Regions from separate parts of the Homo sapiens genome. Here region 2 is linked to region 1. The links are contacts of gene promoters, found by promoter capture Hi-C in blood cells and fetal thymus (Javierre and others, 2016). All regions are on one chromosome and are shown on one strand. Each heading gives the region's core, a stretch centred on a gene start or on the middle of the fragment in contact. The rest is flanking DNA. Distances are from core to core; before and after follow the strand shown. Region 1 holds the start of USP47 (ubiquitin specific peptidase 47). Region 2 has its middle 17 kb from the start of ZBED5.

Region 1 (5,091 bases), core at 874-3,373:
GGAACTGGAGGCAATCACTTTAATAAAGAATGAGTGTGGCCATCAAAGAAGAAAAAGCTAGTTGGCTAGCTATAAAAGGTAAGAACCACAGATCATGCTTCCAGGAATCATGAAAGGAACCAGGGAAAAAGAAGACTGAAGATGAGACTAAGGAATAGACAATAAAGGCATATGGTCCATAAAAAGAAGAAAGGGAAAAAACATAAGTTGTGATGAATTTAAAGCCTCAGGGAAGGGAATTAATCTTAAAAGGACAGGCATTTAATCTTTAAACTTCCGTTGCTGTTATCACTTTTTACACAACAGATGTTTCTGCAAAGCTCGGTATCTATTATCATATCATGTTTTCTATAAATCAAGTTATTAGGGAAATAAATCTAATGTTGGGTTTTCTTAAAGCAGAGTTCCACCTATATGATATTTTTCTAATGGTCAAAAAATTAAGAAAGAATTTTGTTTTTTATAAAAATGAAAACCAGCAATATGAAGCTCTAAAATGAAATACACATTTATACCTTTCTTACAGCACCTATCACTTCCTTCCTTGCATAAGAATTACTTACGTGGTAAAGTACCTAGTCCCTAATTGGAGTTCAACAAACACTAGTGTTCCCTTTCTTAGTAGCTCAGAAAGTTCCCAAGGCAAGAATTCTGATTAACTCATCTGTTTATCTGCTTTGCACAGAGTTGGTGACGCTTGATGAACAAATACTGACACATAACTCTCTGCCTTTTACAAAAATCGTCCTTGCAAAACAACTATCACTGCCCTTCTGACAAAGCTGGGAAAATACTTGTATCATACAGGTACATAACTCCAATAATATCACCCTTGCATACTGTCAGAGCTTGCTTAAGTAACAAAGAATTGCTACAAAACAAGTAAAACAGGCACAAAAAAATTTAAGAATCTGTAATGATCACTCATTAATTTCAAGATCGCACACAGTTAATTTCAATCCAACACTTGTCTCTATTTAAGGTATATGAGAAATAAAAATCCAAAGCATTAGCCTGATGATCAGCCAGTTAAAAATACACATTTGAATACGCCGAAGATATTTATAAAGCCAACAGAGATACTATTAATACGTTGAAATTCGCTGGCCAGTGCTGGATTCTACCCTAAATCTTCTACTACTATTCAAGAGAAGCCAAGTAGTCAAGGCTTCTCGTATCACTTGCTTTTAAGAATTTAAGAAGTCACTCAAATTGGCATACACAACCCAACCTCAAAAAAAAAAAAAAAAAAAAAGAGTTCAGCTCTCCATGTGGTAATGTTCTCCTATCTCCTTCCTTTACATTAATGTCCCATGTACTACTTTTCCACGATCTTCGGTAGGCCCCATTTAGGCAGGCCAATAGTACTACCAAGTAACAGGAGTTGAAAAAAGTCGTAACAGTTAAGTCTGCCCTCCCACAGATCTCACTTGGGTGTAGATTTCACAAGCGCTGAAAGCTATACGCTGCCACTGTCAAACCCAGAAGCAGCACCGTCACCCTGCCGTGCCCATAGGCAACTGTTCCAGAATGTTTTCTTTGAAATGATCTCTCCCGGCTCCACACGTTAAACAAGAACTTAAAAGGCCACCTTCTCCCCTAGAGCAGAACCTGATTCTTTCCCGTCCGCTCCTTTATTCGTCCAGCCCCATAAAACCCGAGGCGGGAGGTCCGCTCCCCGGCCCCTAGAGCCAGCGGGTCTCCCAACTGCTCGCCGCACCCACCGTCCACCCCCGACTGCCTCACGCCTCCTCATTCCCCCACAGCCGAGCCTGCACCCCGGCCGGGCCCGCAGCCGAACCCCGGCCCGGGCCTGTGTTGCCTCGAGCGGCCGCAGGCCTAAGGCCTAACCTCCTCTGGGGCCCCTCACCTCTTTCGGGACCAGTTGGTTCTCCTCGCCGGGCACCATCGCTGACTCCGGCCGCTCCTCTCCGCCCTGCCGGGGGAGGGTGGAGGGTGGCGGCGGCTCGCTAGCTCAAGAGAGAATGGCAGCGGCAGTCATCCTCTCCGCCGCCTGCGCTCCAGCAATAGCGGAGGCCTCAGCCTGGGCCTCAGACACCAGCGCGCAGACACCGACCCAGGGCTCCGCCGCCGCCGCCGCCGCTACCACAGCCGCCTTCGTCGTCGGCCCCTCCCCCAGCCCGCTGCAATCAATGGAAAAATGGCGGCGGCCGCTCTCGCGAGAATTCGGCCCGTCGGGCTCCAAGCCCGGCGCCTGGCGTCGGAGGTGGCCGGCACTTGTCGCTAGCTTCTAGTCACCTCGGCTCTTCCTCAGCCCCGGGAGGTACAGAATTGGCGAGACAGCCATGCAAACGCTTTTCGTTAGAGGAGAGCTGGACGTTCCATCTCGGGACTCCCTCTGCCGGCCGGGGAAGGACCAGGCCCACTGTCCTCCCTGCCTTCTCGGGCTCTTCGGACTCTCTGCCCTGCAGGGAAAGACTCGAGCCGAAAGCCCCATCTCTGACCCTAGCAACTCATACCCTTCTGGCTTCCCTTTAGCAAAGCGCCTGGACGTCATCCCCTCTTCAGATACCCCAGGCCTCGTCCTGGTAGAGACACCACCGCGGGCCACCTCCCGGCCCCCGCCCTTAGACACGGCTCTGGCCCTTCCAGTCAGAATGGACAGCGTTTTATTTGCTCCCGTTCACTCTCCTGACGTTCTTTTCCCCTCTCCCCACCCTCCCTCTCAAGGGCCCCCAGCTGGAGGGACCTCAGGGGCCACCCCCTGCTTGGGGAGGCAGCCACCCCTTCCCTTATGAAGCGGTGTCCTCACCGCCCGCCCCCCGCAACTACATTGGAGAGGCGCTCCCCTGCCCTCTTCCAGGGAACTTCCTTCTCCATCAGGGCCAAGTCTGAGACTGAGCTAGCCTTCCAAGAGTAGAGCTGCAGTATGCTTCAACCTGTGATCTCCGTTAACAAGGTTTTTAGAGAATTTTAATCTTCTCTAGTAGTAAGCATGGTGCTTTGTGTTATACTAAACAAAGTTTGCAGAAGTCATTTCTCCAAATCCTGCTTCCATTATGGAGACTCGGCGGGGCTCCTTCATGAAGACTTTTATGGATACAGTGATCTTACAGCATGCTGAGATAATATAATCTTGTCATGTTCCTAACACCCACAGCATTAACTGCCTGCACTTGTGTTCTCCAAACTTTTTTTTATTGTAATCCCGTTACCAAAAAAAAATCCATATACTTATATAAGTTTTATACGTGTCCTGCTGTGTGCAGAATTATAAAACATTTGTAAAATGTAAAAAGGCTAAGACAAAGATGACATAAACATTTAAAATAACTTAGTTATTTTCCATATTAATGGTATAAAAATCTTTGTTATTCTCACTAAAAATATTTAAGGAAATCAATATGATTGACTAGGTTTCGTTAGTTTTAAAAATCTTTAATACTTCGTGAAATAGTTATTAAAATATCTGATTGAACGTCAGGTTATTTTTGTACTTGGTTTTAATGGCTGTCATAAGCTGAAAAAAAGGTAACTCACAAAGATGTAGATCCTAAAGGAGGAAGTACATCTTTGGCCACTCTTCCTAATGCATGTTTAGAACGATTTAAAAAAAAAAACTGATATGAAAAAAGTTTCATTTTTATCCATTCCATCCAACAACCATGCAAAGGTTTTTATTGAAATTCAGCTAGTAGTGTTCCATCTTTCCTGATGTCAACCAGAAGATGTTGCATTTTTATATTTTTACAAATGGGTTCAAAGCTCTTTGGAATAAATTGCTTAGAAGATTTTTAAGAAGTTGAAAATTTCTATCTTCAAGTTTTAAGTATTCATGTATGAGTTTTGGGAGTTATAGATCTTGTCTTTAAGGTTTTGATATTTTGATTATCATGGATTGATTAAGATAAATTTTGACTTTTTAAAATATTGTATTAAGATTAGTTGTCTTGATTATTGAATTTTTGGCACCCCCCCCTTAAATTTTGTGCCCAAGGTGAACGGTTTTCACCTTGAAAACCATTTGCTTCACCATAGTCCCAGACTTGGGTGGCTCACATATATCATTTTTGCATCAAAATCACATGATGGAAATATTTCCAAACTTTTATTTTCAAAATGTCATCCCATGACTTAGTAAGGTGTCTTCTGTAGTGCTGGCCAGTGCTGTAGTGCTCACCCTAGAAGTAAAAATGTCATCTCTGTCATCTTTTTTGCTTATGCTTGCAATATTATTTCAAACTCATGTTGTCTTTCCAGAAATCCTTTTTAGTCACTTTCATTTTAGTAAAGGTTGATATAATGAAATAAGAATGTAATTGATAAATCTACTTAACCCAGCCCACATAAACTGGAATAAGTGACAACATACTAAAAGAAAATGAAGGAATCTCTGAATTCTCTACATTGCAGAACTCACACTTCTCACTCAGGAGTAGTGAGATGCTGGTGTTTATATATTCAATATAAGTAAGATTTAATTTTGCGTTTTTAGATTAAAATAAATATAAAAAGAAAGTCTAACATTTTCTTCCTACAATCCCCCTTTTCTGATTGCACACTCTTTTCTTTATAGGCCACTGGCTTGACTATTGCAGGAGAGCCTGATAAGATGGTAAGTATACAATGAATATTTGTGGAATAAGTATGTGGATTCATGAATTGATTAATGAATAAATGGACAAATACAAATATATGGCTACTCTTCCTAATATATTATTACTGAGATTACATGGATATGTGTTTATTTACTTTATATGTAAATGTTACGTCCCTTGTCCTCACCTCTCCTATAGGCTGTAAACTCATATATCTACCTTTTTAATGGCTCAATACCTCCCAAATTTAAACTTGACCTGAACAGAACATTTGATTTCCAAGCCTCCCCTACCTCCTGCAACATATCCTCTATCAGTTCTTCTCCACCTTGATAAATTACACTGTCATCAATTCAGTTTATCAAACCAAAAACCTGACACTCTTCATCTTACATTCAATCCCTTCATATGGGCTGTTGCTTCCACCTCTGAAACACATCTCAAATCCATCCACTTTTCCTTCTATCTACTACTGCACATCCCACTCCAATTACTTTATTCTTTTGCCTGTACTACTGCAGTTACCTCCTAA
Region 2 (5,091 bases), core at 1,143-3,642, 1.0 Mb after region 1:
AAAAAATTAGCCGGGCATGGTGGCAGGTACCTGTAGTCCCAGCTACTTGGGAGGCTGAGGCAGGAGAATGGCATGAACCCAGGAGGCGGAGCTTGCAGTGAGCCGTGATTGCACCACTGCACTCTAGCCTGGGCGACAGAGCGAGACTCCGTCTCAAAAAAAAAAAAAAAAGACTCCACTAGTGAAGGATCCACTTCCAAGCTTACTCCTGTTGGCAGGATTCAGTTTTTTGCAGGCTGTTGGAAGTTCCTTGACACATGGACCTCTACAGGGCAGCTCACAACATTCCAGCAGGTTTCATCAAAGTGAACAAGTGAGAAAGCACCAGTAAGACCAAAATCATAATTTTTTGTAACCTAGTTTTGGAGGTGACATCCCATCATTTTTGTTATGTTCTATTCATTAAAAGCAAGTCACTAGGTCCAGCCCATATTCAAGGGGAAGGTATTATGCAAGAGTGTGAATACCAGGAGGCGGAAATCACAGTGAGCCACTTTAGAAGGCGTCTCCCTCAGGATCAGGGTGCTCAAGTTGTTTATCCAGTTTTACAAAGCTAATGAGTAACAAACCTGAGATTCCAGGTTACATCTGTCTGACTTCAAAGCACACAGTATTTCCATTTGTTGCTCTTCTCTCAGTGAATACATAGAATTGTATGTAATTTTTATATTATGTTTATGGTTAGCATAAACTTGACTAGAGATGAATTTTTCTAAAGCATTAAAAATGTTTGGCCAGGCACGGTGGCACATGCTTGTAATCCCAGCACTTTGGGAGGCCGAGACAGGCAGATTACGAGGTCAGGAGTTCAAGACCAGCCTGACCACCATGGTGAAACTCTGTCTCTACTAAAAATACAAAAATTAGCCAGGTGCAGTGCTGCGCACCTGTAATCCTAGCTACTCAGGAGGCTGAGGCAGGAGAATTGCTTGAACCCGGGAGGCAGAGGTTGCAGTGAGCAGAGATGACACCACTGCACTCCAGCCTGGGCAACAGAGCAAGACTCTCTCAAAAAAAAGTTTGTTTTGTGTCATAGAATAAGTTACCTTCATTCTAATGTTTTTTAGGATTGTTCATCCTAATCAATTTTCTTAATAGATAGGGACAGTTAAATCTTTTTCATTCTTGGTCTGTGATAATAAATTCCAAGTTTTAGTTCATATTTTTAAAAACACACAAAGTAGAAGTTACCTGTCAGCAAGACCATCTAAGGAAAATAATCTGGTGGATATGCTAGTATTACTAATAGACCTGTGGAGAGCATTTTTTTCATTTGTTAATTTATTCACAGTTTAATGGGGTACAGGGACAGACATTTATAAATAACAATAAAGATTTATACAAGGATCTATGTAAGTTCAGAGAAAAATATGATGAAGTATGAGTCAAAGACAAATTCATAGAGATAAATGCTGTATTTGAGTCTTGAACCATGAATCTGAATTTATCAGGTGGCCAAGGCACTGTGTTTTTTTTTTTTTAAAGCCCTCCCTTTTTTTTAAGAGACAGGATCTCACTCCAGGCTGGAGTGCAGTGATGCCTTCATAGCTCACTGCCACCTCAAACTCTTGGCCTCAAGTAATCCTCCCACCTCAGCCCCCTGAGTAACTAGGACTATAGGTGTGCATCACGATGCTCAGCTAATTATCAACTTTTTGTAGAGATAGGGTCTTGCTATTTTGCCCAGGCTAGTCTCAAATTCCTGGCCTCAAGGAATTCTGCCTCGGCCTCCTAGAATGCTGGGATTATAGACTTGAGCCACCACGCCCAGTCTGTTCAAGATTATTAAAGATTATCAGAGTCCAAATTACCAGCAGACTTGGAATTTTGAGAAGTCTCTGAAAGAAGGGAGATGGGATCAAATTGGCAGTGTAATAATTCAGGCTCAGAAGTGATAGATTAAAGAAAAGAGATAGATGGAGTAGGGGAGTAGAAGGCAGGGGTGGGGATGGCATAGCGTCCTAGAGCAACTATAAAGGATAACTTTTGGGGAATGGAATTTGAAACCTCTGGTTGGGTTGGCTCCTTCCCTCATTCATTCTTCAAAGCCAAGGGTACCTCAGAATGGTATTTGCCCCTAGCTAGCACAGTGACTTTGGAAACTTGGGGCCAATAAGCCAGGCAGTACCCCAGTGGCTACACTGTGTCCAGGAAAGGAAGCCTCATTTCACACTCAGAATGTTAGCTACTGGCATACCCTGTCCAGGATTACATTTTATCCCCTCACAATCACTAGAGCAAACTATGATAAACAGAAATGGCCTCATACACAGAGAACAGGAAATAACAAGATGAGAACAAAATTAGGAACAACCAAATGCCGGAGGAAGACCAGTACCATGAAAGCATGACAGCAGTCAACAAACAAAAAGCAAGTAGTTTTCAGAGTAAACAGAAGAGGATCTGTGAAATGATAATTATTAATAATTAGTGCATCCTGGTGTGGTGTCAGGCATTCTTCTAAGCACCTCACATGTTTTTTTTAAATTTAGTTTGTATACAGAATATCCCCAGAGGAATAGGAGAGAATATTGTAATGATGAAAAAGAACCAGTTAAATAGATTGTTACCATTTTAAAAAATTATGCGAGGTGTGGTGGCTCACACCTGTAATCCCAACAATTTGGGAGGCTGAGGTGGGTGGATTGCTTGAGCTCATGAGTTTGAGACCAGCCTGGGAAACATGACGAAACCTCGTCTCTACAAAAAATACAAAAATTAGCTGGGGGTAGTGGTGCATGCCTGTAGTCCCAGCTACTCAGGAGGCTGAGGTGGGAGGATGGCTTCAGCCCAGGAGGCAGATGTTGCAGTGAGCTGAGATGGTGCCACTGCACTCCAGCCTGGGCATAGACCCAGACCTTGTCTCCAAAAAATAAATAAATAAAATACAATATAATTTTTAAAAATTAAAAGGTGGACTAAACAGTGAATGGACTTCTTCAATGAAGAGCAAACTAGCAAAACTGGAACAGTAAGCTAAAGAGTTACTCCAAAAGAACAAAGATAATGGTGGAGGGTGATTTCAGAGACATGTAAAATAAATGCAGGGATTCCAGTAACTCATAGTTCCAAAGAGAGACACATGAAATAATTTTACGGAGGAAATATTAAAGAAGTGATAGAAGAAAAGTCCATGTCTGGGTGCAGCGGTTTACACCTGTAATCCCAGCACTTTGGGAAGCTGAGGCAGCAGGATCGCTTGAGCCCAGGAGTTTAAGACTAGCTTGGGCAACACAGTGAGACCCTGTCTCTATTTTTAAATATATATGTATTTTTAAAATGTTATAAAGAAAAATTCCTGGCATTACTTTAGTGTAATTTATAAGATTTATTTAATGTCATTTGCATCTAAAAAAGGAGCAAACATTATTTTAGTGCATCTTATTTTTTATTCCACATTGCATCAAAAATTTCATCACTTCATGTGTTTCTAAATCATATATTTATGTTTGCATAATTGTGCTCATTTTTAAACTTTATATATATATATATATATATATATTTAATAGAGATGGGGTCTCACTATGATGGGGTCTCACTGTGTTCAAGACTGGTCAGTCTTGAACTCCTGGCTTCAAGCAGCCCTCCCACCTTGGCCTCCCAAAGTGCCAGGATTATAGGTGTGAGCTACCATGCCCAGCGTAAACTTTTTATTTTGAAATAAAGTTAGACTGGCTGGGTGTGGTGACTCATGCCTGTAATCTTAGCACTTTGGGAGGCTGAGGCGGGCAGATCACCTGAGGTCAGGAGTTTGAGACCAATCTGGCCAACATGGCAAAACCCCATCTCTACTAAAAATACAAAAATTAGCCAGGTGTGGTGGCGGGCTACTCAAGAGGCTGAGGCAGGAGAATCACTTGAACCCGGGAGGCAGAGGTTGCAGTGAGCCGAGATCACACCATTGCACTCCAGCCTGGGAGACAGAGCAAAACTCCATCTCAAAAATAAATAAATAAAGTTACACTTACAGAAAAGTTGCAAAAATAGTACCAATACCTTCACATAGCTTCCCCTAATATCAACGTATTATATAATTATAGCATAATTATCAAAATTAATAAACATAAGTACAATACCATTAGCTAAATTACAAATACACCTTATATAAATGAGGAGAGAAAACAAGTCAATGGGAATGATTAACCTATATAGATACATACAAAATAGAATAAAGTAGATGGGTAGCTACTACATCTTTATTTCTACAACTGGTCTCGTAAACTAGAATATCCTTCCTTCATTATCTATTCCATCTTCATACTGCCAGCATCTGCAGCTGGTTAATAAACTTCCAGTTAAGAGGAACCATTCTTGGATTTTCTGGGTTAGAGCATGTCTCCCTTAGATAAAGAGTTCTACATAGGCAAAGCTCAAAGTTGTGAAAATAGAAAGCAAAACATTTTGAGTGCATCAGTGGGTATCGTAGTGGGAAGTGTTTATCTCAAGCCTGGGTTTCCCAGCAGATATAGATAAGGGAAAAACCGCGCTTTATGTTGGTTGCTGGTTCACAGCACATTGCTGTAGCACAGGAGTTGGCATGCTTTTTTCTGTAAAGGACCAGATAATAAATATTCCAAGCTTTAAAGACCACACATGATTGATATCTGTCATGTATTCTTTTTTGTTGTTACTGTTACAACCCTTAAAAAGTGTAAAAAAAAAATTCTTAAAATCTGTCCAAAAATAGGATTTAGGGCATATTTGCCCTCAGACTATAATTTGCTAATCTCTGCTATAGGGCGACATCCTAACTTTGCAAAGCATTCCTTCCCTGCTGGGAAACAAAAGACACATACACACAAATGTTCATTGCAGCACTGTTCACAATAGCAAAGACATGGAATCAACTTAAATGCCCATCAATGACAGACTGGGTAAAGAAAATGTGGTACATATACACCATGGAATACTAAATGGCCATAAAAAAGAACGAGATCATGTCTTTTGCAGGAACGTGGATGGAGCTGGTGGCCATTATTCTTAGTAAACTCATGCAGGAACAAAACCAGATACTGCATGTTCCCACTTACAGGTGAGAGCTAAATGTTGAGAACACATGGACACACAGAGAGGAACAACAGACACTGGTGC

What was found. Contacts are between HindIII fragments. The CHiCAGO score rates a contact against its expected background, and 5 or more counts as called.
Region 2: a fragment that was not itself captured here is called in contact with the fragment with the promoter of USP47 in region 1 in 2 of 17 cell types (non-activated CD4 T cells and activated CD4 T cells); the score reaches 6.6 in non-activated CD4 T cells.

The regions. Positions count from the first base shown.
Region 1 is chr11:11,839,004-11,844,094 of GRCh38, reverse strand. It overlaps USP47 (ubiquitin specific peptidase 47), which reads right to left and starts at 2,123. Exons shown (of 28, transcript NM_001282659.2): 1 at 1,871-2,123. The coding sequence starts at 1,909. It overlaps LOC107984311 (a long non-coding RNA gene), which reads left to right and starts at 2,254. Exons shown (of 4, transcript XR_001748134.3): 1 at 2,254-2,920; 2 at 4,538-4,576. RefSeq lists enhancers at 1,880-2,019, 1,318-2,181, 2,230-2,399, 2,182-3,047. The HindIII fragment of the contact is 16,233 bases long and covers 1-5,091 here.
Region 2 is chr11:10,838,433-10,843,523 of GRCh38, reverse strand. No RefSeq gene overlaps it. Among named protein-coding and RNA genes, the nearest start is that of ZBED5, 17 kb to the left of the region's middle. RefSeq lists a silencer at 4,228-4,522. The HindIII fragment of the contact is 4,377 bases long and covers 204-4,580 here.